Regions from separate parts of the Homo sapiens genome. Here all the other regions are linked to region 6. The links are contacts of gene promoters, found by promoter capture Hi-C in blood cells and fetal thymus (Javierre and others, 2016). All regions are on one chromosome and are shown on one strand. The core of a region is centred on a gene start or on the middle of the fragment in contact, and the rest is flanking DNA. Distances in the headings are between cores, read along the strand shown.

What was found. Contacts are between HindIII fragments. The CHiCAGO score rates a contact against its expected background, and 5 or more counts as called.
Region 1: the fragment with the promoter of NUDT1 here is called in contact with the fragment with the promoter of PSMG3 in region 6 in 5 of 17 cell types (fetal thymus, M1 macrophages, M0 macrophages and 2 more); the score reaches 8.9 in fetal thymus.
Region 2: a contact is called between a fragment that was not itself captured here and the fragment with the promoter of PSMG3 in region 6, in 1 of 17 cell types (naive CD4 T cells). The highest score is 6.8, in naive CD4 T cells.
Region 3: a contact is called between a fragment that was not itself captured here and the fragment with the promoter of PSMG3 in region 6, in 1 of 17 cell types (total CD8 T cells). The highest score is 5.0, in total CD8 T cells.
Region 4: a contact is called between a fragment that was not itself captured here and the fragment with the promoter of PSMG3 in region 6, in 8 of 17 cell types (M1 macrophages, M0 macrophages, M2 macrophages and 5 more). The highest score is 12.1, in M1 macrophages.
Region 5: a contact is called between a fragment that was not itself captured here and the fragment with the promoter of PSMG3 in region 6, in 1 of 17 cell types (non-activated CD4 T cells). The highest score is 5.4, in non-activated CD4 T cells.
Region 7: a fragment that was not itself captured here is called in contact with the fragment with the promoter of PSMG3 in region 6 in 1 of 17 cell types (total CD8 T cells); the score reaches 5.0 in total CD8 T cells.

What each region holds. Positions count from the first base shown.
Region 1 is chr7:2,240,580-2,244,082 of GRCh38, forward strand. It overlaps NUDT1 (nudix hydrolase 1), which reads left to right and starts at 1,647. Exons shown (of 4, transcript NM_002452.4): 1 at 1,647-1,677. MRM2 (mitochondrial rRNA methyltransferase 2) reads right to left here and starts at 1,626. Exons shown (of 3, transcript NM_013393.3): 1 at 1,583-1,626. The coding sequence starts at 1,590. RefSeq lists an enhancer at 159-1,010 and a silencer at 1,333-1,552. The HindIII fragment of the contact is 10,591 bases long and covers 1,089-3,503 here.
Region 2 is chr7:2,372,574-2,376,435 of GRCh38, forward strand. It overlaps EIF3B (eukaryotic translation initiation factor 3 subunit B), which reads left to right. Exons shown (of 19, transcript NM_001037283.2): 12 at 100-222; 13 at 1,955-2,033; 14 at 2,816-2,954. Among named protein-coding and RNA genes, the nearest start is that of EIF3B, 20 kb to the left of the region's middle. The HindIII fragment of the contact is 1,983 bases long and covers 490-2,472 here.
Region 3 is chr7:2,548,687-2,552,124 of GRCh38, forward strand. All of the region lies in intron 2 of BRAT1 (BRCA1 associated ATM activator 1), which reads right to left. It also overlaps the pseudogene LOC124901849. Among named protein-coding and RNA genes, the nearest start is that of BRAT1, 5.1 kb to the right of the region's middle. The HindIII fragment of the contact is 1,051 bases long and covers 852-1,902 here.
Region 4 is chr7:2,189,417-2,192,951 of GRCh38, forward strand. The region is part of intron 10 of MAD1L1 (mitotic arrest deficient 1 like 1); the gene reads right to left. Among named protein-coding and RNA genes, the nearest start is that of MAD1L1, 42 kb to the right of the region's middle. The HindIII fragment of the contact is 2,545 bases long and covers 994-3,535 here.
Region 5 is chr7:2,410,480-2,414,094 of GRCh38, forward strand. All of the region lies in intron 1 of CHST12 (carbohydrate sulfotransferase 12), which reads left to right. Among named protein-coding and RNA genes, the nearest start is that of CHST12, 8.7 kb to the left of the region's middle. The HindIII fragment of the contact is 9,344 bases long and covers 1-3,615 here.
Region 6 is chr7:1,568,544-1,572,191 of GRCh38, forward strand. PSMG3 (proteasome assembly chaperone 3) reads right to left here and starts at 1,489. Exons shown (of 2, transcript NM_032302.4): 1 at 581-1,489. The coding sequence starts at 796. It overlaps PSMG3-AS1 (PSMG3 antisense RNA 1), which reads left to right and starts at 1,530. Exons shown (of 5, transcript NR_027329.1): 1 at 1,530-1,736. RefSeq lists silencers at 1,161-1,590, 2,031-2,110 and enhancers at 1,219-1,787, 2,411-2,480, 2,491-2,540. The HindIII fragment of the contact is 7,479 bases long and covers 1-3,648 here.
Region 7 is chr7:2,322,010-2,325,622 of GRCh38, forward strand. It overlaps a transcript of SNX8 not described here. Among named protein-coding and RNA genes, the nearest start is that of SNX8, 9.4 kb to the left of the region's middle. The HindIII fragment of the contact is 3,424 bases long and covers 1-3,328 here.

The DNA of each region.
Region 1 (3,503 bases), core at 397-2,896, 670 kb after region 6:
TCTAGACAATTGTTACAATAAATGTAACAATTTATTCACAGCCCACAATAGCTAAGCAGGTGGAAGCTATACACACCTCCCCTTGTTTAACTCTGACAACAACCTCACCAAGGAAGTTCTATGTCCTCTTTTTCTTTTTTTAAGACGGAGTCTCACTCTGGCGCCCAGGCTGGAGTGCAGTGACAGCTCACTGCAGCCTCCGACTCCCGGGTTCAAGCAATTCTCCTGCCCCAGCCTCCCAAGTAGCTGGGATTACAGGCACACCTGCTACCATGTCCGGCTAATGTTTGTATTTTCAGTATAGATGGGTTCCACCATGTTGGCCAGGCTGGTCTCAAACTCCTGACCTCCGCTGATCTGCCCGCCTTGGCCTCCCAAAGTGCTGGGATTACAGGTGTAAGCCACTGCACCCAGGCATTTCTTTCTTCTTTTTGTTTTTTTAGAGACAGGGTTTTACTATTACCCAGGCTGGAGTGCAGTGGCATGATCACAGCTGACTGCAGCCACAGCCTCTGGGGCTCAAGTGAACCTCCCACCTCAGCCTCCTGAGTAGCTGAGACTACAGGTGTGTGCCACCACTTCCGGCTAATTTTTCTATTTTCAGTAGAGATGGGATTTCACCATGTTGGCCGAGCTGGTCTCGAACTCCTGACCTCTGGCGATCAGCCCACCTTGGCCTCCCAAAGTGCTGGGATTACAGGCGTGAACCACCTCACCCGGCCATTTTTGTTTTGCTATCATCCAGGCTGGAGTTGCAGTGGCACAATCACAGCTGATTGCTGCCATAACCTCTGGGTCTCAAGTGAACCTCCCACCTCAGCCTCCTGAGTAGCTGGGACTACAGGTGTGCACCACCATGCCTGGGCTAATTTTTTTTTTTTTTTTAATTCTTAAAAACCTTTTTTAGAGATGGCATCTCACTACATTGCCTAGGCTGGTCTCGAACTCCTAGGCTCAAACGATCCTCCTGCCTCAGACTTCCAAAGTGCTGGGATGACAGGTGTGGGCCACCAAGCCCGGTCTCTATGTCCATCTTTCTGATTTAAATAAATAAATAAAAGTTACCACCCTCATGGCTCCAAGGCCAAAGCTTCTAGCTTCTGCAACACCAAAGCGTGCTGACAAGCCAGGAGGCACTGACTGCTGACCGTGAGTCGCTGTCTTCCCCTCGCTTAAGGGGTCTCCCGGGAAAATGGCACAAGCCGGTCCCGGGGGCCAGGGCCCACTCGACAGCCCAGGAAGCGCGGGCAATGGAGCTACCCGGCCCAGAAGCGAAATCCCGCCCCGGGCTCGCCCCCGGCGCCTTGGATCTGGGCCCCGGCGCTGCGCCCCCCACCTGGACTCCGCCGCCGGCCCCGGCCTCCCCACGGCCCCGCCGGCCCTGCCCCTGGAGACCTGAGGGCGCCCTCCTCCCGGGGAACTGCGACCCGGAATCCTGGCCTCGCCCCTGTCGCGCTCGCTGAGTGCGGGGACGGTGCCCAGCGCTCGGCACCCAGCCCCGAGGCCAGGACCGAGGAAGGCGACCGGGCGGACCCCCAACCACTCCCGCTGTCTGCACGCGCAGCAGCAGCGCCCAGCTCACCCCGCCATTGGTGTTCCCCGCGCCTGCAGCGCGCCGCCGGAAGTGCCTGGCCTCACTTCCGGTCAGAGGCCACGCCCCCGGAAGCGGCGGTGCAGGTACGAAAAGCGCGCGCGGGGATTCCAGGAGTCGTGGTGACCAGGGAGGGGAGCCGGGCCAGCGGGCGGCAGGAGACTAGGGGAGCTGAGCCATGGGCTTGGGGGAGAGCGGGGCCGGGAGCTCGAAGGAGACCAGAAGAGCAGGGTCGGGGGCTCGAGGGAGACGAGGAGAGCGGGGCCGGGGGTTTGGGAGAGAGACAAGGAGAGCGGGGCGGAGGCTTGGGGGAGACCAGGAGTAAATCACAAAAATTTACTTTGGAAACCGTGGCTTCTGGCAGAAACAGATCAGTGTCGGGACAAAGTACACGGGCCTGGTGTGAAACTAAGCCACAAACCCATTTACCCTGTCTGACCTGCCTCCGCCACCAGGACCCAGTCTCAGTGAAATGGGAAAGGTTCCCTTGTCCTCCTCGAAGGGCGTGCGATGAGGATGTGGCTCACTTCTTCAGTGCCCCGCTTCTCAAGCCTCTAGGGGAACATACAGACAGGCAGGCTGAGGGGCTCCCACCCCACGGCAGTGTCTAGGGGTGAATGTTTGCAGCTCCTGAAGCCCCAGCAGGCATGTGTTAGAGGGTGCTCTTTCAGTTTAGCCTTGTAGGTGGCTTGTGTTAGTCAGCTGTTAGACTCCCTGCCTTATCGCAAGGACAGAGGGCTTTCTGTATCCCTAGGTTTCTTGCCTTGATGTACTGGAGCAATCAGATCACACGGCGGCTTGGAGAGTGAGTGCAAGGTTTTATGAGTGGAATTAGCCCTCAGCAGATGGGGGAGCCAGAAGGCAGTTGGAGTGGGAAGGTGATTTTCCCCTGGAGTCGGGCTGCTGAGCAGCCTGGGCTCTCCTCTGACCGCCCCTGCCAAACTCATGGTTCCATCAGTTGATGGCCTGCTGGTGCCTGTTGGTGTGCTTTCCACGTCCTCTTGACGTCCAGCGGCTTGTGTCTCTGCCCACTATAAAAAACCACTGGGGTTTTTTTATAGGCACAGGACGGGGACGTGGCGGGCTCGGGAAATGCAACATTTGGGCAAAAAAACAGAAATGCCTGTCCTCACCCAGGTCCCTGGGCACAGGCCTGGGTGTGGAGCCCTGGCCAGAGACCACGCCCTCCTCTACCCAGCACTTCCCTGCCCCCTTCCTTATCATCTGGTCCCTTTTCTCAGACACCACAACTTCCAAGAAGGATCACTGGTCCTGAACCCTGTGTCTTGTCCAGGTGTGGACCCCAGAAAAGTTGGTCCTGGCTGGGCGCAGTGGCTCACGCCTGTAATCTCAGCACTTTGGGAGGCTGAGGTGGGTGGATCGCTTGAGCTCAGGAGTTCGTGACCAGCCTGGGCAACGTGACAAAACCCCATCTCTACTAAAAATACAGAAATTAGCTGGGTGTGGCGGCTCATGCCTGTGGTCCCAGCTATGTGGGATGCTGAGGCAGGAGGATGGCTTCAGCCAGGGAGGCGGAGGTTACAGTGAACCGCGATCACGCCACTCTCCTCCAGCCTGGGCAACAGAGCAGGATCTTGTCTCAAAATAAATAAAGGAAAGTTGGTCCTGGCCCTCCAGCATTTCTCCAGGGTCCTTTTTTCAGCAGGGACCTGGCGGAGGCATCGCCCTCAGAGTCCTCTGGACCTGGACCTGCACACCTATGGGAGCAGGAAGGACCCTTGTGACTTCCAGTGGCCCCCCTGGGTGCCAGGTCCCACAGTAGCCACAGCAGGAGCAGAGTGGGTGGGGTATAAACTCCTATCACAGGAGGGAGGACTAGCCGGGCCTGGCTGGGTGGACCTGTGTCTACAGCCACACATTTCCTGGGAATCTGGAAGCCTGCTACAGAGAG
Region 2 (3,862 bases), core at 231-2,730, 800 kb after region 6:
GGATATTTCTCTGTGGTTGAATAGTGAACATTTTAACTGATCAAGAGCACTATGTTCTGAATTGACCAAAAAGGGAGGGGTCTGTTTTGTGCATTTTAGAAACCATCATAGCCTTTGCCTGGGAACCAAATGGAAGTAAGTTTGCTGTGCTGCACGGAGAGGCTCCGCGGATATCTGTGTCTTTCTACCACGTCAAAAACAACGGGAAGATTGAACTCATCAGTAAGTAACCTGGTCCCTTTCCTCTTCTGAGTAGGTCAGCACAGATGATGACCCAGTCGCTGCCCAACAGTGAGCATTTGACTGGCCTAGGACCACTGCTGGGCAGGCCGGGACTCGCCTATGAATGGGGTGTGGCCTCGGCTGATGGAAGTGAGCGATGGCCTGGAGGTGCCGCCTCCTTGCAGGGTGTCTCTCTGAGCCCCGTTGAGCCCTCACGTTTAAGCGAGTATTTCCAAGGCTTCCATTCTCTGCCATCATCTCAAGTGAAGCTTTTTCTCTTCTGGCTGTAGCTGCTGTCCCTGGGCTTGGGGTCACTTCCTGTGGACATACTCCTGCCAGTCCCCAGTCTGGGTCAGGTGCCTTTGACCAGGGTGCGCAGAGCTGTTGCACACAGCTGTACTCTGCCCCCGTGCACCCGGTTCCAGGGGTGCCACACTGCACCCACCTGGGGCTCGCTCCTCACAGTGGTGCGTGGGCCCTCGCCTGTCTCACGGCACCTGCTGCCTGTGCCCTCAGCTCCTCACTTCATCCTGGGGTCTCTGCTCAGCACAGAGCCCGGTGCCCGCGGGGATTGAATGAGCCATTGCTTGTTGCTTCATAGGCGTGGGGTGTGTGTGTGTGGTAGCCAGGAGGTGGCGATGGGCTGTGTTCCTCACACAGGACTCTGGCTGCCAGCTGCCCTCCTGCAGAGCCATGGGTTTGGCTCTGTACCAGGAAGGGGTTGGAATCTCCTGGCCGCACCTTTCGCAGCATGATTCTGTGAGGAGTTTAGTTTTCACTTTGCTAGAGCTTGGCAGGGTGCGTGGTGCCCTCAGTTGGCAGTGGATTACAAGATTGGCTGTTTCATTAATTCTGGTTGATAGAAACATATGGGCAATTGCAGACTGTCCAGAGACTTGTGTAAGTCTTCTAGGTCATAAAACATAGGCAAGCAGAGGCACCTTGTACCTTCCAAACATGCTGCGTGACACGCCTCTCCTGAGGTTTGGCATGGACGCTGGGGCCACCGCATGGGCTCCATCCCATGCCCGTGGCTGTTGGGGTTTTCGCTTGTGCAAGTCTGAGACCCCTGCCCCTGCCAGGGTGCACTGCCCTCCCACATCTCCTCCCCTCCTCCCCACGTCAGCCTGCCCCATGCCTCTTTTTTGGATGTACCACAGGCTGAGGGGAGAGAGGCCACAGGTTGTCAGCTCTGTTTGAGATGCAGGGAGCATATGCTCTGAGGGGGACTTGAGCCAGCCCCAGCTGGCCTTCACTTCTCACTGTTCCAGCGGCTCTGCCCGAGATCCATTCCGGAAGTAAGAGTTAGTACCTGCAAAGATGATGACTGTAGTCAGTTTCAACAAGCATACAGCTTATCCAAAGACGCCTTGTCGCTAGGAGAGTGGCTTTGGTCTTTTGGGGTCACACGTCTCTGACATCTCTCTGTTGGGGTCCCTGCAGCAGTGAACATTTGCTGTAAAGGGAATTCTTTGTCCAGTTACCTCAGGAAATAAGATAGTATTGTTTTGAAATACCCCTGTCGCATCTTCTTTTTTTTCCCATTTAAAGTATGGATCATGACTTAGGGGGTACTTGGCGATGGACTTTGTAAAATTGTTTTCCGAGGTGGTCCAGCATTACCAGCTCTGCCCTCATGGGCAGCATGAGCACGGCCAAGTCCTCCAGCCTTGGCTGCCCCGGCACTGTGGAAGCCCTCGCAGCTCGTGACAGGCGCGCTCTTTCCTTTCAGAGATGTTCGACAAGCAGCAGGCGAACACCATCTTCTGGAGCCCCCAAGGACAGTTCGTGGTGTTGGCGGGCCTGAGGAGGTAGGTGTCTGCGCTCTGAGCCTGTCCGCCCTGTGAGTAGCGCTCTGCTGTGGCAGAGACCCCTCAGGCGCCTGCACCCGGCTTCTTGGTAGAGAGAGTATTGTGCGCTGAAAGGGTTGCCCCAGTGTCAGTGGATAGGACTTCATTGAACCTCTGCAGACCCACGGTACTCCAGGACTCAGGCCAAGCCCGCACAGAGTGAAATAAGCGCTCCCAGATGCTTTCGTGAAGTGACCAGGCAGACCTGTCTGCGGGTTGTGGTTCTCTGTGGTTAAACAAGTGCCTTCCAGCCATCCAGTAACCTCCCCCCGGGGGTCAGTCCCTTGTCTTCTAGTGGGAAGGGTATTCGTTACACAGCTGTGAGGCTGCCTTACCTTTGTGGTTGGTGTCACGGTGTCGGTCTCAGCTGTGTTCCAGCAGTGTGTCGAAATCATGGAGAAGCTTCCAGCTTTCTGCTCTGAGTTAAAAGAATACCCTTTTGTTGCTGCTCTCCCTTGCTTCATTGTCCACACTTGCTACTGTATTTTTGGAGGCTTACTTAGCCTCAGATAACATTTCCAGTAAAAATAATATGATGGCAGTCATATGTAATACTCACTGCACACTCTGCATCTGTGATTTGGTAAGTCTCACAGCGGCCACCAGAGGCTGTTGCTGTGCTTGTTTCCATGTTAACGCCGAGGCTGGCTCCCTGGGGACCCCATGCCGCAGCACCTCTCAGGAGTGGGATGCCAGGAGGTATGCGTCTCCATGAAGCCTGACGGTCCTGTCTGTCTTTGCAGTATGAACGGTGCCTTAGCGTTTGTGGACACTTCGGACTGCACGGTCATGAACATCGCAGAGCACTACATGGCTTCCGACGTCGAATGGGATCCTACTGGGCGCTACGTCGTCACCTCTGTGTCCTGGTGGAGCCATAAGGTGCAGGCCTGTGGGGCATAGTTTTGACTGTGGATAGAAGCAGGGAGTGCTGGCTAGCTGCTGACTCTGGTGCTGTCCTGGGACCTCAGGGAAGGGGCACCAAGCCTCTGTGTTGAACAGAAGCCTTGGCTGGTGTTAGTGGCAGGAGGAGGAGGATTCTGGGTTGTAGAAGAGGTGGCGCCGAGTGCAGGAGCAGCCCCTGCTCATGGTTGCGGGGAGGTGGGGGGTCTTACCCTGGGCCCAGGGACCCCTGAAAAGGAGTGAGAATGTCTGCAGAGAGGAGTCGTTTCCTTTGAAGTCTGAACAGAGTTCCATAACCGCAGACATTAAGATCTGTTTTGGGGTCAGTGGTTGAGTCCAGCTGCCGCGTTACCCACAACTCGTATTCCAAAACTGCTGGTTAAGTTTGTCAAGGACTTTCAGTATTTAGTGACTTGTAAAAACATTGATGGAGGCACTGATACTTGAACTAGTCCATGCCAATAGAGCCTGTGAAACCAAACGCGGGTAATTTTGTTTAATGAGATACAGAATTTGTAGGAATATCAACTTCCCAAATGTTACTGCAAGTGTCTAGAGTTAGAAATCTTCGCATTCGAATCAGGATATGTTGATCACAGCCTGTGTCCAGGTATGTTCAGATGTCACTGCGGTGGGGCCTGCCTTGACACTTGAAATCACTTTAGGCCAGGCACAGTGGCTCACACCTGTAATCCCAGCACTTCAGGAGGCAGAGGTAGAAAAATCACTTGAACCCAGGAGTTTGAGACTAGCCTGAGCAACATAGCGAAACCCTAGCCCCATTAAAAAAAAAAAAAAAAAAAAGACTTTTTAAGCTGTTGACCACTCTCCTTGAGTTATGAACACTTAGCTTCCAAAATGCCGGCCTGCAACAAGGAGTTTATGCT
Region 3 (3,438 bases), core at 127-2,626, 980 kb after region 6:
GCGTGGTGGCTCACGCCTGTAATCCCAGCACTTTTGAAGGCCAAGGCAGGCAGATCACGAGGTCAGGAGATTGAGACCATCCTGGCAAACATGGTGAATGAAACCCTGTCTCTACTAAAATATAAAAAATTAGCCAGGCATGGTGGCGGGCGCCTGTGGTCCCAGCTATTTGGGAGGCTGAGGCAGGAGAACTGCTTGAACTCGGGAGGTGGAGGTTGCGGTGAGCCGAGATCGCACCACTGCACTCCAGCCTGGTGACAGGGCAAGACTCTGTCTCAAAAACAAACAAACAAACAAACAAAAAACAATGCCACTGAGTTCAAAATCTAAAAAATCATTGTTGAAGGGTTTTGAAACAAAACAGAATTAAAATACTAACGACAATAATAGAAGGTTGTGATGGCCTGAAGTTCAAGTGCTCTGAGGTCCTTCGGTTGCCTGGATAGAGAATGGAAAGTCTAATTAACTTCAGACTTTTTAAAAAATCCGGTTCTCATGTTAAAAATATAAGGGTAGCCACTGAAGAACACAAATAAGCCTGTGGTCCCAGCATCTTGAGAGGCCGAGGTGGGCAGATTGCCTGAGCCCAGGAGTTTTAAGACCAGCTTGGGCAACACAGGAAGATCCCCTCTCTATAAAAATTCGCTGGGCATGGTGGCGCGCATCTATAGTCCCAGCTACACTGGAAGCTGAGATGGGAAGATCACCTGAGCCCAGGAGGTCAAGGCTGCAGTGAGCCGTGATTACACCACTGTCCTGGACAACAGCACAAGAACTTGTCTAAAAAGAAGAACATAAATAGAATGTATAACTTCAAAACCAGAAGAGGAAAGATTTAAAAGAAAAAAAAAAGCTTTATCAATCTGATGGAGGGCAGAAAAGGAGGATAAAGGCACAAAGGTAAGGCACAGGAAATTAAAAAATACAAAAGAATTCAAATCTAACAGTCGCCTCAACAAATTAAAGAGATCAAACTTATCTGTTAAAAGAAAGAGTTGCTGAGATTAAATTAAACACTAAAAACAAGCAATGTGGTGTTTCTAAAAGCAATAAAATGCAACGACAGGAAAGGCTGGGAGCAGGAGAGAAAAGACACAGTAGGCAAATTCTAACTTTAAAGAAGCTGATGTAGCAACAGAAATAGCAAACAAAATGGGCTGTAAAGCAAAAAGCAGTATTCATGCAGAAGTAAGTTAACTGATCACGGAGATAAATTCCAGAAAGACACAACATTCCTACATCTATGTATACCTAACCTCACTTCAAAACGTGTAAAGCAGCCTGGGCAACGTGGTGAAACCCCGTCTCCGCAAAAAAATACAAAAAATTAGCTGGGTGTGGTGGTGTGTCCCTGTAGTCCCAGCCATCCAGGAGGCTGGGGTGGGAGGATCACTTGAGCCCAGGAAGTTGAGGCTACAGTGAGCCGTGATCACACCACTGCACTCTAGCCTGAGTGACAGAGTGAGACCCTGTCTCCAAAAAAAAAAGAAAAAAAAAATGCCAGGCACAGTGCCTCACACCTGTAATTGCAGCGATTTGAGAGGCCAAGGCGGGCAGACTGCTTGAGCCCAGGAGTTTGAGACCAGCCTGGGCTACATAGTGAAACCCCGTCACTACAAAAAATACAAAAACTTAGCCGGGCGTGGTGGCGGGCTCCTGTGGTCCCAGCTATTAGGGAGGCTGAGGTGAGAGAATCATCTGAGCCCAAGAAGTCGAGGCTGCAGTGAACCGAGATCATGCCACTGCACTCCAGCCTGGGCAATAGAGCAAGACTCCATCTCAAAAAAAAAAAAACAAAAAAAAAAAAAGAAAGAAAAGAAAAAGAAAAAAATAATATGTAAAGCGAAAAAAAAAAAAAGGATGCATCTCAAAGAAAAATCATGAATCCATGATCTTGGTGTAAGCTTTTTACACACCTCTCAGAAACAAGCAAACAAATTAGCAAGAACATAGCAGGTCTGAACTAATGAACGAGTGTGGAAACTACACTCTTTCCATCAAGTACAATGCAGGAGAAATGACAGAGGCTGGGAGGGAGGAGGAAACAGGGACTCACTGTGAACCCAGACTCGGTTTCTTTAGGGGGAACAAAATTAGATTGTGCTGATGATTTCAGAGCCCTGTAAATTTACTAAGAACTGTTGAATTGGTACCATTTATTTATTTATTTTGTCCATTTCTCATGTCAGACGGGTCACGTACCGACATCATACCAGGGTTCCATGGTGCCACATCTCACACATGCGCCTGAACACTCAATTATCATGCTTAGGTTGGGTGCAGTGGCTCTCCACTGTAACCCCAGCACTTTGGGAGGCCAAGGTGGAGGGATCACCTGAGGTCAGGAGTTCGAGACCAGCCTGGCCAACATGATGAAATCCCACCTCTACTAAAAATACAAAAATTGGCCGGGCATGGTGGCATGCACCTTTAATCGCAGGTACTCAGGAGGCTGAGGCAGGAGAATCGTTTGAAACCCAGGAGGCGGAGGTTGCAGTGAGCCAAGATTGTGCCATTGCACCCCAGCCTGGGCAACAGAGCAAGACTTGGTCTCAAAAAAAAAAAAATCTATATCTATATATATATCTATATATAGATATATATATATCTCATGCTTACAAACTGTAAAAGGATCTGGTACACCTTAAATGGGAGAATGGCATGGTATGCAAATTATATCTCAATAAAGCTACTGAAAAATACTTCTTAAAATTTAAATACAGGCCAGGCATGGTGGCTCGCTCCTGTAATCCCAGCACTTTGGGAAGCCCAGGCGGGAAGACTGCTTGAGCCCAGGAGTTCCAAGCTGGCCTGGACAAGATGGTGAGACCTCATCTCTATGGGAAAAAAAAAAATAGCTGGGCCTGGTACACACCTTGATCCCAGGAACTCAAGAGAATGAGGCAGGCGGACTGCCCAGGAGGTCAAGGCTGCAGTGAGCCGTGTTCACGCCATTGCACTCCATCCTGGGTGACGCGCAAAAACCCTGGCTCAAAAAAAAAAAAAAAGAAAAAGAAAAACTGACTACTACAAACTAGGCCACAGTTGAAGACCTTCAAATACCAAAACATCAAAATCATATAGTGAAATCTCTAGAACATTGAGAAAACTCGCCTGGGTCCTATGTCTCAATAAAAGTCTCAACAGCTATAAAGATTCAAAACATATGTTATGTTTTCTAACCTCCACAAAGTAAATTAAAAATCAATAATAAAAAGACTGGAAAAATCCATATTTTGAAACTAAAGGATACTCTTTTAAGTAACTTGTGGGTGAAAAAAAAATTATAATGAAAAGCATAAAATACTCAGAACTAAATTAAAACCAAAGTACTGCAATGTAAAACGTGTAAGATGTAGCTAAAGTCATACTTTTAGAGAAATGCATAGTCTTAAATATATATATATATATATATATATATTTTTTTTTTTTTTTTTT
Region 4 (3,535 bases), core at 1,016-3,515, 620 kb after region 6:
AAGAAGAACGGATCGTCTATCCATACAACAGAATATTACTCAGCCTTAGAAAGAAAGGACATTTTGGCACATGCCACAACATGGATGATCCCTGAGGACATTATGTTAAGTGAAATAAGCCAGTCACATAAGGACAAATATTTCATGATTCTCCTTCTATGAGGTCCCTACTGTAGTAAAAAATCACAGAGGCAGGAAGCAGAATGGTGGGTCCTAGAGCCAACGGGGGAGCACAGGGAGCGAGCGTTTAATGGGTACAGAGTTTGGCTTTGGGAAGATAAAGTTTTGGAGGTGGATGGTGGTGATGGTTGCACAGCAATATGAATGTTCTTAAAGCTACTGAACTGTACACTTAAAAACAGTTAACAGTCAATTTTATTGTATATGTATTTGACCCAATACAACAAATCGGGGAAAAGAAAAGCATCCTCCTCAACCTGATGAACAGTATCTCGCAAGACCCTAAAACTAACCTCATGCTTCAGGAAAATCTAAACGCTTTCCCTCTAAGGCTGACAAGGCCAGGACAGCCATTCTCACCATGCCCAGGTAAAACTGCACTGGAGGTCCCAGTGAGTGCACTAAGGCAAGAAAAAATAAACGAAATAAAAAGTAAATGGGGGGAAAGAAAACAAACTGAAAGCTAAATCTAAAATTTATCTGAAAATAAAAAAACTAAAATAGCCAAGACAATTCTTACAAAGAAAAAGCTGGAGGGCTTACTATGTTCTTTCAAAGAGTATTAGGAAGTGACAGTAATTACGACCTTACCATACTGGAGAAAGGACAGACACATGATTCAATGAAAGAAGACCTCGAGCAAAGGCCCATGAATGTATGGCTGACAGGCTTTCATCAGAGGTGCCAAGGAAATTCAAATGGGAAACAGACATACGTATTGTGGGGCAGGAAAGCGACCCTCAACTGTGACCACACTACACACAAAAATTAACTCAAAATTAACAGTAAAGTTAAAGCTAGAAAGTTTCTAAAAGCTTGGGTTAGGCAGATACAAAAAACACAAACCATAAAGAAAATGAATTGATAAATCAGACTTAGCAAAATTAAAAGTTTTTACCCTTCAAAAGACACTAAGAAAATGAAAAGGAAGCCACGTACCGGGAGAAAATATTCACCATACATCTGACAAAAGACTCTGTCATGAATATATATAGTACTCTGCCAACTCAGAAGATGACAGTCCAATTAAAAAATGGGGAAAAGACTTTGAAAAGACACTTCACAAAAGAAGATATATGGCCGTCAAGTTAAGTACATGAGTAGATGTTCAACATCATTAGTCACCAGGGCAACAGGAATGAAGGCCACAAGGAAATACCGCACACACCCACCAGGATGGCTAAAGTGAAGGTGGCCAATGAATGCATTCGGGATGCGGGGCCAGCGGAATTCAATGAAAGAGCTCGGGATGTGGGGCCAGCGGAATTCTCACACACGGGTGGCCAGGGGACAGAATTAGGCAGCCACTTTGGCTCATCAGCTTTTTCTAAAATTAAAACATACCATATCACCCAGAGGCCCCACTCCTAGGTATTATCCCAAGAGACAGGAAAACATACATAAAGAGACTTCAATACAAATGTTCACAGAATCTTTATCTGCAAGAGCAAAAAACCGGATTAAAAATTATGGTATATCCGTTCGATATAACAAGGACAACCGATACAAGCAACAAATGTGAATGAATGCTTTTCAGAAAACATTCTGCCAGTGAAATCACCAGACACAAATGACTGCATGACGTATGATTCCATTCCCACATAATTCCAGACGAAACAAAACCACGGTGACAGCCAGACTGAGGGCAAGTACGCTGGGAGCCTGTTACCTCCACCTGCCACTAGGAAGTCGCAACAGGCAGCATGAGTCCAGACACAATAGCAAACAGCCCTCCTGGAAAAGTGGGATTTCTCAAAGAACAGGAACATGGCCCTTTGGAAATTTCTTGTTTATTTCACCTAATGGTCATTTAGAGTTTGTTTTTACTTTTTTAATAATACAAATGTATCTAAAACTAGGGTGGAGGCTAACACCTGTAATCCCACCATTTTGGGAGGCTGAGGCAGGCGGATCACTTGAGCTCAGGAGTTCGAGACCAGTCTGGCCAACATGGTGAAACCCCGTCTCTACTAAAAATACAAAAATTAGCTGGGCGTGGTGGCAAGTGTCTGTAGTCCCACCTGCTCCAGAGGCTCAGGTGGGAGAATGGCTTGAGCCCAGGAGGCAGAGACTGCAGTAAGCCATGATTGTGCCACTACACTCCAGCCTGGGCCACAAAGCAAGACTCTGTCTCAAAAAAATTAAAAAAAATTAAGCCGGGTGCGGTGTCTCACGCCTGTAATCCCAGCACTTTGGGAGACCAAGACAGGCGGATCATGAGGTCAGGAGTTCGAGATCAGCCTGGCCAACATGGTGAAACTTCGTCTCTACTAAAAATACAAAAACTAGCCGGGCGCAGTGGCAGGCACCTGTAATCTCAGCTACTCGGGAGGCTGAGGCGGAAGAATTGCTTGAACCCGGCTGGCAGAGGTTGCAGTGAGCTGAGATCGCGTCACTGCACTCCAGCCTGGGTGACAGAGCGAGCCTCTGTCTCGATAAAAAAAAAAATACATAAAATAAAACTTAAAATTAAAAACTAAAATTAAATCAGGGTGGAGGTAGCACGTTAAATATAAATCCATGGGGTTTTTTGTTTTTTTTGTTTTTTTTTGAGATGGAGTTTTGTCCTGATTGCCCAGGCTGGAGTGTAATGGCATGATCTCGGCTCACTGCAATCTCTACCTCCTGGGTTCAAGCGATTCTCCTGCCTCAGCCTCCCAAGTCATTGGGATTACAGGCACATGCCACCACGCCCAGCTAATTTTTGTTATTTTTAGTAGAGACAGGGTTTCACCATGTTTGCCAGGCTGGTCTCGAACTTCTGACCTCAGGTGATCCACCCACCTCGGCCTCCCAAACTGCTGGGATAACAGGCGTGAGCCACCACACCCGGCCAAATCTGCGTTTTAAGCTGACAGGGAAGACACACCAGCAGCTATGATCGTGCATGCTCCTCTTCCATCTTCCGAAAGACAAGAGCTCTGAGTATTGAAAAACAATTCAGGAAAACTATCAGCCACCTAAGCCGGTAAAGCAGCAAAGATGAGAATGAAAGTGTGACTATGCCCCAGGCTCCTAGGGAACTGATTCTCCACAGAGTAAAGTTTTTTAAAAAATTCTAAGGAAGGGCGGGGAGAAGGGTGGTGTTTCTCCCCACCTCCCTCATGCTCCTAAACTAACGTCATGCCCCAAGGAAACGAGAGAAAAGGATGTCATTAATAAATTTATACCAAGTTTCTTTTCAATGGTGCTGAAAAGTATATGCAAATCCATCTGTAATTAGGTTTAAAATTCCATTTCATGGGATAATCAGACTTCAAAAAACTCAATTTTAGTTTTAATCAGATTTTAACAAGGATATTAAGTCCATTTCGTTTAGAAAAGGAAAAAACTGTGAACTTAACACAAAATGTAT
Region 5 (3,615 bases), core at 588-3,087, 840 kb after region 6:
TGGGTGACACAGTGAGACACTACTCTAAAAATAATAAATAAAAGATTTGAGGTAGGGATGGGATAAATGCTGCTATGAAGAAAACCAGGGTATGGGGAGTGCAGGGTAGAGACTGGGATCTACTTTCTCAGGGTGGTTAGGGAAGGCTTGCTGAGGAGGTGAGCGTCAAGCAGAGATCTGAAGGAAGCGTGGGACTGCCCTGGGATTCCCCAGCTGAGGGATGGTGGTGCAGAGGCCCAGCAGCAGGAGCCTGCTGGGTGCGGTGGATGAACGGCAAGGAGACTGTTGAGGCTGGAGAGGGTCGCCGAGGGGGACTGTGATAGAAGAGGAGATCAGTGGAGTCCTGGTCACGGGCCATCAGAAGGACTCGAGATAGGAAGCCACTGATCCAACTTTTAATAGAATAACCGTGGCTTTGGGGTTGAAAATGGATTGTGTGGGCCTGAGAGCAGAAGCAGGGAGACTGGTTTGGAGCCTGTTGCAATAACGCAGGTGAGAGCTGATGGTGATTGGGGCAGGGTGGGGTGTAGGTAGGGCAGAGGGGACTTGACAAGTTAGAGCCTGGATAACTATTTACTTTTTTAAATTATTTATTTATTTATTTTTAAATTTTGAGATGAGATCTCACTCTGTCATCCAGGCTGGAGGGCTGGAGTACAGTGGTGTGATCATAGTTCACTGCAGCCTCAGCCTCCTGGGCTTAAGAGATCCTCCCACCTCAGCCTCCTGAGTAGCTGGGACTACAGGTGTATACTACCATACCTGGCTAATTTTTAAATTTTTGTACAGATGGCTTCTTGGTATGTTGCGCAAGCTGATCTTGAACTCCTGGTCTCAAAATATTATCCTGCCTTGGCCACCTAAAGTGTTGGGATTACAGGCATCAGCCACTGCACCTGGCTGAGCCTGGATATATTTTGCATGTAAAGCCCCAAGCAGGTTCTTAAACTGATCATAGTGAGATTTATTATCATTTTCTTCTGAAATAATTTCTTTGAGTTAACTTAACTCTTTTTTTTTTTTTTTTTTGAGACGGAGTCTCACTGTTGGCCAGGCTGGAGTGCAGTGGGGCAATCTTGACTCACTGCAACCTCCACCTCCTGGGTTCAAGCAATTGTCTCTGCCTCAGCCTCTCAAGTAGCTGGGATGATAGGTGCCAGCCACCACACCCAGCTACTTTTTGTATTTAGTAGAGACAGGGTTTTGCCATGTTGGCCAGGCTGGTCTCCTGACCTCAGGTGATCCACCCAGCTTGGCTTCCCAAAGTGCTGGGATTACAGGCGTGAGCCACTGTGCCCAGCCACGAATTGATTTAACTCTTAAGTCAGTTGAGTCAAGTGAGTTATCGTTTGGATTCTAGAGTCAAATACCTATGCAACAAATATTTGAGCCTTATGAGGAATACAGAAGGTACATGAGATATGATCCCTGTCTTCTAAGAACTTGAAACCCAGTTTGGGAATATTGGACTGGTATACGTGCGTGGATTTCCTGTCTACCTGGGAAGGGCCAACAGAGGGCTTAGAGACGGGAAGGAAGAGAACAGGGTGAGCTGATAGCCTCTGTGCTCTAGGACCGGCTCTGCAGGGAAGTTACTTTACTTCAAAGGCTAAGTTTGGGCTCAGTTTTCATTCAGGTCTCCTGGGATATAAATCAACATTCCATTCTCATCAATGTGACCGTTAATTACATATTTTTATTTGGATATACTGTCAGATATAGTTAACTGAACACAAATGAAGTAATTGTATAAGCAAATAAACCATAGTCCTGGAGGTACCGCGTGAAAATGTGTCTCACGATGGAGGTTTTAATGTAGTACCACTGTGTGTAAGTTCCAGGCAGCCCAGGACATGCAGAGAGCAAATATTGACACCAGGAACAGAAACTTTCCACATTTTTGTTGACTACAGCGATGGGAACTGCAGTGAATTATTTGCCTTATATAGTGTCTGTAAAGCTGGAAAAGAAGTAGGTAGTTTCTGGTCTTTGTGTCAGTAGCATAAATAAATAAACTTGAAACATTCTTGCGCTTCTTATTGAAGGTCATGTCACTTGATTTAGTGCTCAAGAGCTTGGTTATTTGGACACGAAGAAGCTACTTCCCTCAGCAGTAAAGGAAATAGAAATTTGACTGTCTAGTGAAACCTACCAATTCTGCCTAAACATATACTGTAGAGGCCAGCAGAGCAGAGTGGCAAGGAAGGGGGGCTCTCCAACAACAGCCTGAGTTCTGAGGCCAGCTCTAAACACTGCTAGCTATGTAGACTTGTGCAAGTCTGTAGCTACTTTTCCCAGTTTCATCCCAGTTCATGTGAGGATTAAACAAAGTAATATGTGCAAAGCCCTTAGAACATCACTTTTAACAACATGTTAGCTATTGGTATTGTTATTTTAAAATCAATTTGCAAATAGACAGTTTTTTTTTTTTTGACTTGATAACTGGCTCTTGGTAGAAAGCATGAGTAATAATAAAAATAACACATATTTGTGTAACAAATATTTGAGCCTGATGAAGACAGAGAGATAAGTAAGGCCGGGGCAGATTCTAAAGAAAGTGCTTTACTATTTTATCAACCACTTAGCTGTGTTTTCTCATTTTTGTGCTCTCGGTAGCTCTGGTTAGCAGAAAGGCCTAGTTTGTTCTTCTTTTGTAGATGGACTGAAAGTCAGACATAAAATGACTTGGCCCAGGCCACTCAGCAGAGGCCGGACTTGGTCTCAGTATCCCTTCCCTCTTCCTCCCAGTCCCTCCGTGTCTGTGCGGAACTCTGCACTGGTGTTTTCTTCTGTACTGTGGAAATTGGTGAGAGCTGGGCCATTGCATTCATATTAGAGAGAGAAGTGTTAGCCTCTGGAGATCAGCTTCATAAAACCACAAACATTTTCTTTTTAACTTTAAATCAAATGTATTGAGTATGATTTACATGCAATAAAACGTACCCATTTTAAGTATGCAGTTTGAGGAACGTGGCCAAACATATTCACCTTGTACCTGCCTCTGCAATCAAACAGTAGAGCATTTCCATCGCCCCGAGTTTCTGCGTGCTCCTCTGCAGTCTATGATTTTCATCACGATTTTGGCCTCTTTTAAATGTCATATAAATGGAACCACAGAACATGCAGTCTTTTACGTCTGGCTCCTTTTTCAGTGTGCGACCTGTGGCGTTCACCCATGAATCAGCACTTCACCCTTTTTACACTCACTTGCTGATGTACATTGGGGTTGTTTTCAGGTTTTAGCTTTTTTTTTTTTTTTTTTTTTTTGAGACAGAGTCTCCCTCTGTCGCCCAGGCTGGAGTGCAGTGGCGTGATCTTGGCTCACTGCAACCTCTGCCTCCTGGGTTCAAGTGATTCTCCTGCCTCAGCCTCCCGAGTAGCTGGGATCACAGGCACCCACCACCACACCCAGCTAATTTTTGTATTTTTAGTAGAGATGGGGTTTCACCATGTTGGCCAGGCTGGTCTTGAACTTCTGACCTCAGGTGATCCACCCACCTCGGCCTCCCAAAGTGCTGGGATTACGGGCATGAGCCACCACGCCCGGCCAGTTATCTCATTTTAATTTGCATTTCTTTGATGACTAATGATGATGAGCACTTTCCTATGTGCTTT
Region 6 (3,648 bases), core at 239-2,738:
CAGCCTCAACCTCCAGGGCTCAAGCCATCCTCCCACCTCAGCCTCCCAAGTAGCTGGGAGCACAGGCACACACCACTAGGCCCAGCTAATTTTTTGTTTCCTTTTCTTTTCCTTTTTTTTTTAAGACCAAGTCTCTATCTGTTACCCAGGCTGGAGTGCTGTGGCACGATCTTAGCTCACTGCAACCTCCGCCTCTCGGGTTCAAGCGATTCTTCTGCCTCAGCCTCCTGAGTAGCTGAGATTACAGGCATGTGCCACCACACCCAGCTAATTTTTATATTTTTCGTAGAAATGGGGTTTCCCCATGTTGGCCAGGCTGGTCTGGAACTTCTGACCTTAAGTGATCTGCCCGCCTCAGCCTCCCAAAGTGCTGGGATTACAGGTGTGAGCCACTGCACCCAGCCTCTCTCTATATATATATTTTGTGTAGGCACTTGTTTTTTTGTAGTGACTTGTGTGTGTGTTGTTGTGTTGCCCAGGCTGGTTTCAAACTCCTGGCCTCAAGCGATCTGCCCGCCTAGGCCTCTGAAAGTGCTAGGGTTACAGGCGTGAGCCACAGTTCCCGGCCAATCCACTTTACCTCATCCTGCCCCAGAAGGACTTTTGTGGTGAGCACAGGCTTGCTGACGTCACTGGCCACGCTGCTGGGCTCCAGGGAGACCAGGGTGCCCATCTTCCCAAACTGGGTCACCACCACCAGGATGTGACTGCTGAAGGCCGTACACACCACCTGGGTGGGGACCCCGCACACCACCTCCGTCTTCTGCTTCGATATCACCAACGGCGTGTCTTCCATGGCGGGGCTCTGCAGTGGCAGCTTTAATTTAGGTTAAAAAGAAAGGGGAAAAAAAGGAGTCAATCAAACAGTACAGCCTTGGGGCTCCCAAAAAAGTAGCACGGGGCATTGAAACGGAAACGCAAGGAGGCCCATTCAAAAGAAGGGGCCAGGCGCGGTGGCTCATGCCTGTCATCCCGGCACTTTGGGAGGCCGAGACAGGACGATCGTTGAGGCCAGGAATTCGAGACCAGCCTGGCCAACATAGCGAGACCCCCATCTCTACCAAAAAAAAAAAAAAAAAAAACCAGCAGGGCGCGCCTGTGGTCCCAGTTACTCAGGAGGCTGAGGCGGGAAGATCGCTTCAGCCCGGGAGGTCGAGGCTGCGGTGAGCCGTGATCACACCATTGCATTACAACCCGGGCGGTAGAGCGAGACCCTGTCCGTAAAAAAATAAAACAGAAGCAGGAGCGGGGCCGCCCATAGAGACCGCGCCTGGGGCTTTCTGGGTTAGGGGATCGACTTGCACGTTCACACTGCCAGGCCGGGCAGTGGCTTCCCGCCCCTCGGCCTCGCCGCCGCCCCGGCCCTGCAGCCGCGGCCCGGGACCCCCACGACACGCGGTGCCGAGGCCGGCCGGGCTACTGGGGACGCAGCCGCCCGGGGAAGCCCGCGGGTACCCGCGCTCACCAAGCCGGCGCCGCGCCCGGAAGTGGCTCTGCGTGCGCCACGCGGGCCCGCCCCGTCCGCGGGTTCCGTCCACCTTCCGGAAGTCAGGGCCGCGGCGCTTCTGGTCCCGGAGACTTGGGGCTCCCGGGCTTCTGAGCGGCTCGGGTTCCGCGCTGCCGGCAGGGCTTGGGGGCGCCTTAGAGCCGAACCCCGTTTTTTCAGGAAAGGGCGCTGCGACCACCCCCGTCCCGGGCCTCAGCCCCTCTGCTGCAGACCCTCGGGATCGTCGCTGGTAGGAGCTCTGTCCCCCGTGTCTGTGTCCAGGACCCCCGAAGCGCCGCGCCTAGGAACCCCCTAGCGCTGGGAGCCCGGCCCTGCTCGACCACGGGCTTTGGGCTGGAGGCGTCATCGTCGCCACAGCGAACGCTTATTTGGCACCGAGTGTCCGCCAGGCATCGCTCTAAGCGCTTTATACCCATAACTCACTTCATCTCAGCCACCCGGTTCCGTAGAAGCGTTTCATCCGCGTTTTACAGACGTGTGCAGGTGCAGAGAGCTCGGCCAGGCTCAGGCGGCGGGCGGGCTGGGGTGGGCTCCGACCGTCCCTCGGGCGCTCCGTGACACGAAGCCCCGGCCAAGGCCAAGAAGGGGGCCAGCCCCACCCTGAAGCGGGATGAGTTCTGGTTCCTCCCAGGGACCCCCTCACTCCCTACTGCTCACTCTCAGTTTCTCCAAGCTGGAAGGTTTTTTGTTTTGTTTTGTTTGAGACGGAGTCTTGCTGTGTCACCCAGGCTGGAGTGCAGTGGCGCGATCTCGGCTCACTGCAGCCTCCGCCTCCCTGGTTCAAGCAATTCTCCTGCCTCAGCCTCCTGTGTAGCTGGGATTACAGGCGTGCGCCACCAGGCCCGGCTAACTTTTTAAATTTTTAGTAGAGATGGGGTTTCACCATGTCGGTCAGGCTGGTCTTGAACTCCTGACCTCAGGTGATCTGCCTTCCTCGGCCTCCCAAAGTGCTGGGATTACAGGCGTGAGCCACCGCGCCCCGCTGCTGGAAGTTTTATTGGTAGGGTCGGACATCTTGGTAGCAGAGGCTGAAAGTGATTGGAGCCTCCAGAGCCTTCCTCGGGGTGGGGCGTTTAACATCCCTTCAGAACCCCACCCTCGGAGGCCTTACTGTCGTTTCCTGACAACCATGTCAAGGCCGTATTTTCTGTCTATATTACCAGAAAGGGGTCCCGATCCAGACCCCAAGAGAGAATTGAGGGCGAGTCCACAAAGTGAAAGCAAGTTTATTAGAAAAGTAAAGGAATTGAGGCAGGAAAACAGGGTCTGGAGGCAGGGAACACTTCAGCTATGACAGGAAATACCCTCTCCATAGGGTGTACACTGAGTAAATGATTTTGTAACTTTATTTCATCCTCTTTATTTACATAGGGCGTACACCAAGTAACCAGTAGAAACCCCTAGAGGGTATTTAAACCTCACAAGTTCTGTAATGGGGCCCTGAGCCTCTATGCTTTGGCCGCCCCCACACCATGGAATGTACTTTCATTTTCAAAAAATTTCTGCTTTTGTTGCTTCATTCTTTTTTTGCTTTGTGCATTTTTTTTTTTTTGAGACAGAGTCTCTGTTGTCCATGCTGGAGTGCAGTGGCGTGATCCTCACTGCAACCTCTGCCTCCCGGGTTCAAGCAATTCTCCTGCCTCAGCCTCCTGAGTAGCTGAGATTACAGACGTGCGTCACCATGCCCGGCTAACTTTTGTGTTTTTAGTAGAGACGAGGTTTCGCCATGTTGGCCAGGCTGGTCTTGAACTCCTGACCTCAGGTGATCTGCCCGCCTCGGCCTCCCAAAGTGCTGGGATTATAGGTGTGAGCCACCGCGCCCGGTGGCTTTGTGCATTTTGTCCAATTCTTTGTTCAAGATGCCAAGAACCTGGACACCCTCCACCAGTAACAGAATAAAGAATGGCTACTCCATAGGCAGAGCAGCATGGGCTGCTGGTTGCCCATTTTTGTGGTTATTTCTTGATGATATGCTAAACAAGGGGTGGATTATTCGTGCCTTACCTTTTTAAACCCTTTAGGGTAACGTCCTGGCATTGCTATGGCATTTGTAAACTTACGGCGCTGGTGGGAGTGTAGCAGCTGGGACGACCAGAGGTCACACTCATCGCCATGTTGGTTTGGTGGGTTTTGGTCAGCTT
Region 7 (3,613 bases), core at 367-2,866, 750 kb after region 6:
ACTGCGCCCGGCCTCGAATTTCTCAATTCTAAAACATTTTGCTTAGTAGCAAGAACCCAGTTATATCACGATGGTTAATCTGTTTTTTTGATTCACATGTAGTGCTTTTCATTTAGGAAAATGGGAACTAGCTGGGCAAATGGACAGAACTTAGCATGCAGAGCATCGGAGTCAGAATTTAACTACACAGGAGGACGTGCAGAAAGGACCTGCTAAGGACCTTTCAGAAACAGTTACTAAAATGCTGGTGTGGTGGCTCACGCCTATAATTGCAGTGCTTTGGGAGGCCAAGGCAGGAGAAGTGCTTCAGTCCAGGAGGTGGAAGCTACAGTGAGCTATGATTGTGCCACCGTATTCCAGCCTGGGCCACAGAGCAAGACCCCATCACTTAAAAATAAATGCTGGCTGGGCGCCGTGGCTCACACCTGTAATCCCAGCACTTTGGGAGGCCAAGGCGGGTGGATCACCTGAGGTCAGGGGTTCGAGATCAGCCTGGCTAACATGATGAAACCCCATCTCTACTAAAAATACAAAATTAACTTGGTGTGGTGGCGCACGCCTGTAATCCCAGCTACTCGGGAGGCTGAGGCAGGAGAATCGCTTGAACCCAGGAGGTGGATGTTGCAGTGAGCCATAATCGCGCCACTGCACTCCAGCCTGGGTGACAGATTGAGACTCCATCTCAAAAGTAAAATAAAATAGAATAAAATAAAATAAATGCTGTAGGCCAGGTGCTATGGGTCACGCCTGTAATCCCAGCACTTTGGGAGGCTGAAGTATGTGGATCACCTGTGGCCAGGAGTTCAAGACCAGCCTGGGCAACATGGTGAAACCCTGTCTCTACTAAAAATAAAAAAAAAATCCGGGCGTGGTGGTGGGCACCTGTTATCCCAGCTACTCGGGAAGCTGAAGCAAGAGAATTACTTGAACCTGGGAGGCAGAGGTTGCAGTAAGCCGAGATCTTGCTGCTGCACTCCAGCCTGGGCAACAGAACAAGACTCTGTCTCTAAATAAATAAATAAATAAATAAATGGTGTGGGCCAGGCATGGTGGCTTACACCTGTAATCCCAGCACTTTGGGAGGCCAAGGCCAGTGGATCATCTGAGGTCAGGAGTTCTAGACCAGCCCGGCCAATACGGTGAAACCCCATTCCTACTAAAAATACAAAAATTAGCTGGACATGATGGCAGGTGCCTGTAATCCCATCTGCTCGGGAAGCTGAGGCATGAAAATCGCTTGAACTTTGGGGGTGGAGGTTGCAGTGAGCTGAGATTGTGCCACTGCCCTCCAGCCAGGGCGACAGAGTGAGAGTCTGTCTCAAAAAAAAAAAAAAAAAAAACAACCAAACAAACAAAAAAACTAATAATGGGTAATGCATTGTTTAGCGTATCTTAGAAATACTAATAATGGCTAATGAGTTGTTTAGGATAGGCTATATCATGCTGCAGTAACAATCTCAAATCCCAGAGGCTTAAAGTCACAAAGGGGTTCATGTCTGTCACCGGCATGCAGAGACCCAGGATCACAGAGCGGCCACCATCCTGCATTTCTGCCATGTTAACAGAGAGAAAGGATCTGGAGGATGCTGCAGGAGCCGCTAAATGATATGGCCCAGAAGTAAGACTCATTGCTGTTCACAACGCATTGGCCAGGACCAGTGATGTGGTCTCGCTCAACCTCAGAAGGACCAGAAGTGCAGTACTACCACGTGCCTGGCACGCCAGAAGCCAGGACAGCACCAAACACTAACCACGCTAACACGTATTGAATGCGTACTAGGAACTGAGTCTTCTTGGTTTTTTGTTTTTGTTTTGAGACCGACTCTTGCTCTGTTGCCCAGGCTTGAGTGCAGTGGCACCATCTCGGCTCACTGCAACCTCAGGTGGATCACCTGAGATCAAGAGTTCGAGACCAGCCTAGCCAACATGGTAAAACCCCGTCTCTACTAAAAATACAAAAATAAGCTGGGCATGGTGGTGCATGCTTCTAGTCCCAGCTACTTGGGAGGCTGAGGCAGGATAATCGCTTGAACCTGGGAGGCAGAGGTTGCAGTGAGCTGAGATCACGCCACTGTACTCCAGCCTGGGGTGGCAAGGGCAAGACTCCATCTCAAAAAAAAAAGAATTTATAAAAAAAGAATGTATCTCATCCTGGCCGGGGGCAGTGGCTCACGTCTGTAATCATAGCACTTTGAGAGGCCAAGGCAGGAGGGTTACTTGAGCCCAGGAATTCAAAACCAGCCTGGGCAACGTAGTGACACCCCATCTCTATTTTCTTTCTTTCTTTTTTTTTTTTTTTGAGACAGAGTTTCACTGTGTCGTCCAGGCTAGAGTGCAGTGGTGTGATCTTGGCTCACTACAACCTCCACCTCCCAGGTTCAAACAATTCTCCTGCCTCAGCCTCCCAAGTAGCTGGGATTACAGGCATGCGCCACCACGCCTGGCTAATTTTTTGTATTTTAGTAGAGACAGGGTTTCACCATGTTGCCCAGGGTGGTCTCGAACTCCTGAGCTCAGGCAATCTGCCCACCTCAGCCTCCTAAAGTGCTAGGATTACAAGAGTGAGCCACTGTGACTGACCTATTTTTCAAAAAAATAAAAATAAAAATAAACTAAGAATAAAAAAAATTTAGGAAGTGGTATGATCAGTACTTTGCAGGCAACCAAGACCAGAAAAGTTCAACACCCTAAGATCCCAGAGCTGAGATCCTAGCCTAGGCTGCAAGACACCATTCTCACAACCCTTGTGGGCATTTGCCCTGTGTTATAAAGCTACCAATTTCTTCTCAACACTCTTCCTTTTTTTAATTTTTTGAGACAGGGTCTTGCTATCACACCCAGGCCGGAGTGCAGTGGTAGGATCATGGCTCACTGCAGCCTCCGTCTCCTGGGTACAAGAGATCCTCCTTCCTCAGCCTGCTGCGTAGCTGGGACTGCAGGCATTGGCCATGTAGCCAGGCATGGTGGCACACGCCTGTAGTCCCAGCTACAGGCTATTTATTTTTTGTAGAATGGTGTCTCACTGTATTGCCCAGGCCAGTCTCAAGGACAGTCTCAAGCTATCCTCCTGACTTGGCCTCCCAAAGTGCCAGGATTACAGGCATGAGCCACCATGCCTGGCCCACTGCTTTTATAAAAAAATTTTTTTAGAGACAGAGTTTTGCTCTCTTGACTAGGCTAGGGCACAGTGGTGCAATCAGAGCTCACTGCAGCATTAATCTCCTGGGCTCAAGCAATCTTCCTGCCCCAGCCTCCCAAAGTGCTGGGACTGTAGGCATGCACCATCACGCCAGCGGCAGTGGAAAAGTTTTGAGGTGGATACAGAAAAAGCTTAGGTTTCCTGGAATTGGTTGTTACTAGAAATAGGGAAGTTAAAAACTCTGCTAGTGAGGACTTTTAGAAGGAAATGAGGAACGTGGTATAGAAAACCTAAATCATCTGGGAGGATGCCTAAATGGTCACAAACAGACTCTTGGTAACAATACAGACGTTAAAGGTGCTGCTGATGAGGGCTCAGAATGTAATGAGGAATATCAGGCCAGGTGGGGTGGCTCATGCCTGTAATCTCAGCACTTTGGGAGGCTGAGGTGGGCGGATTGCTTGAGCTCAGGAA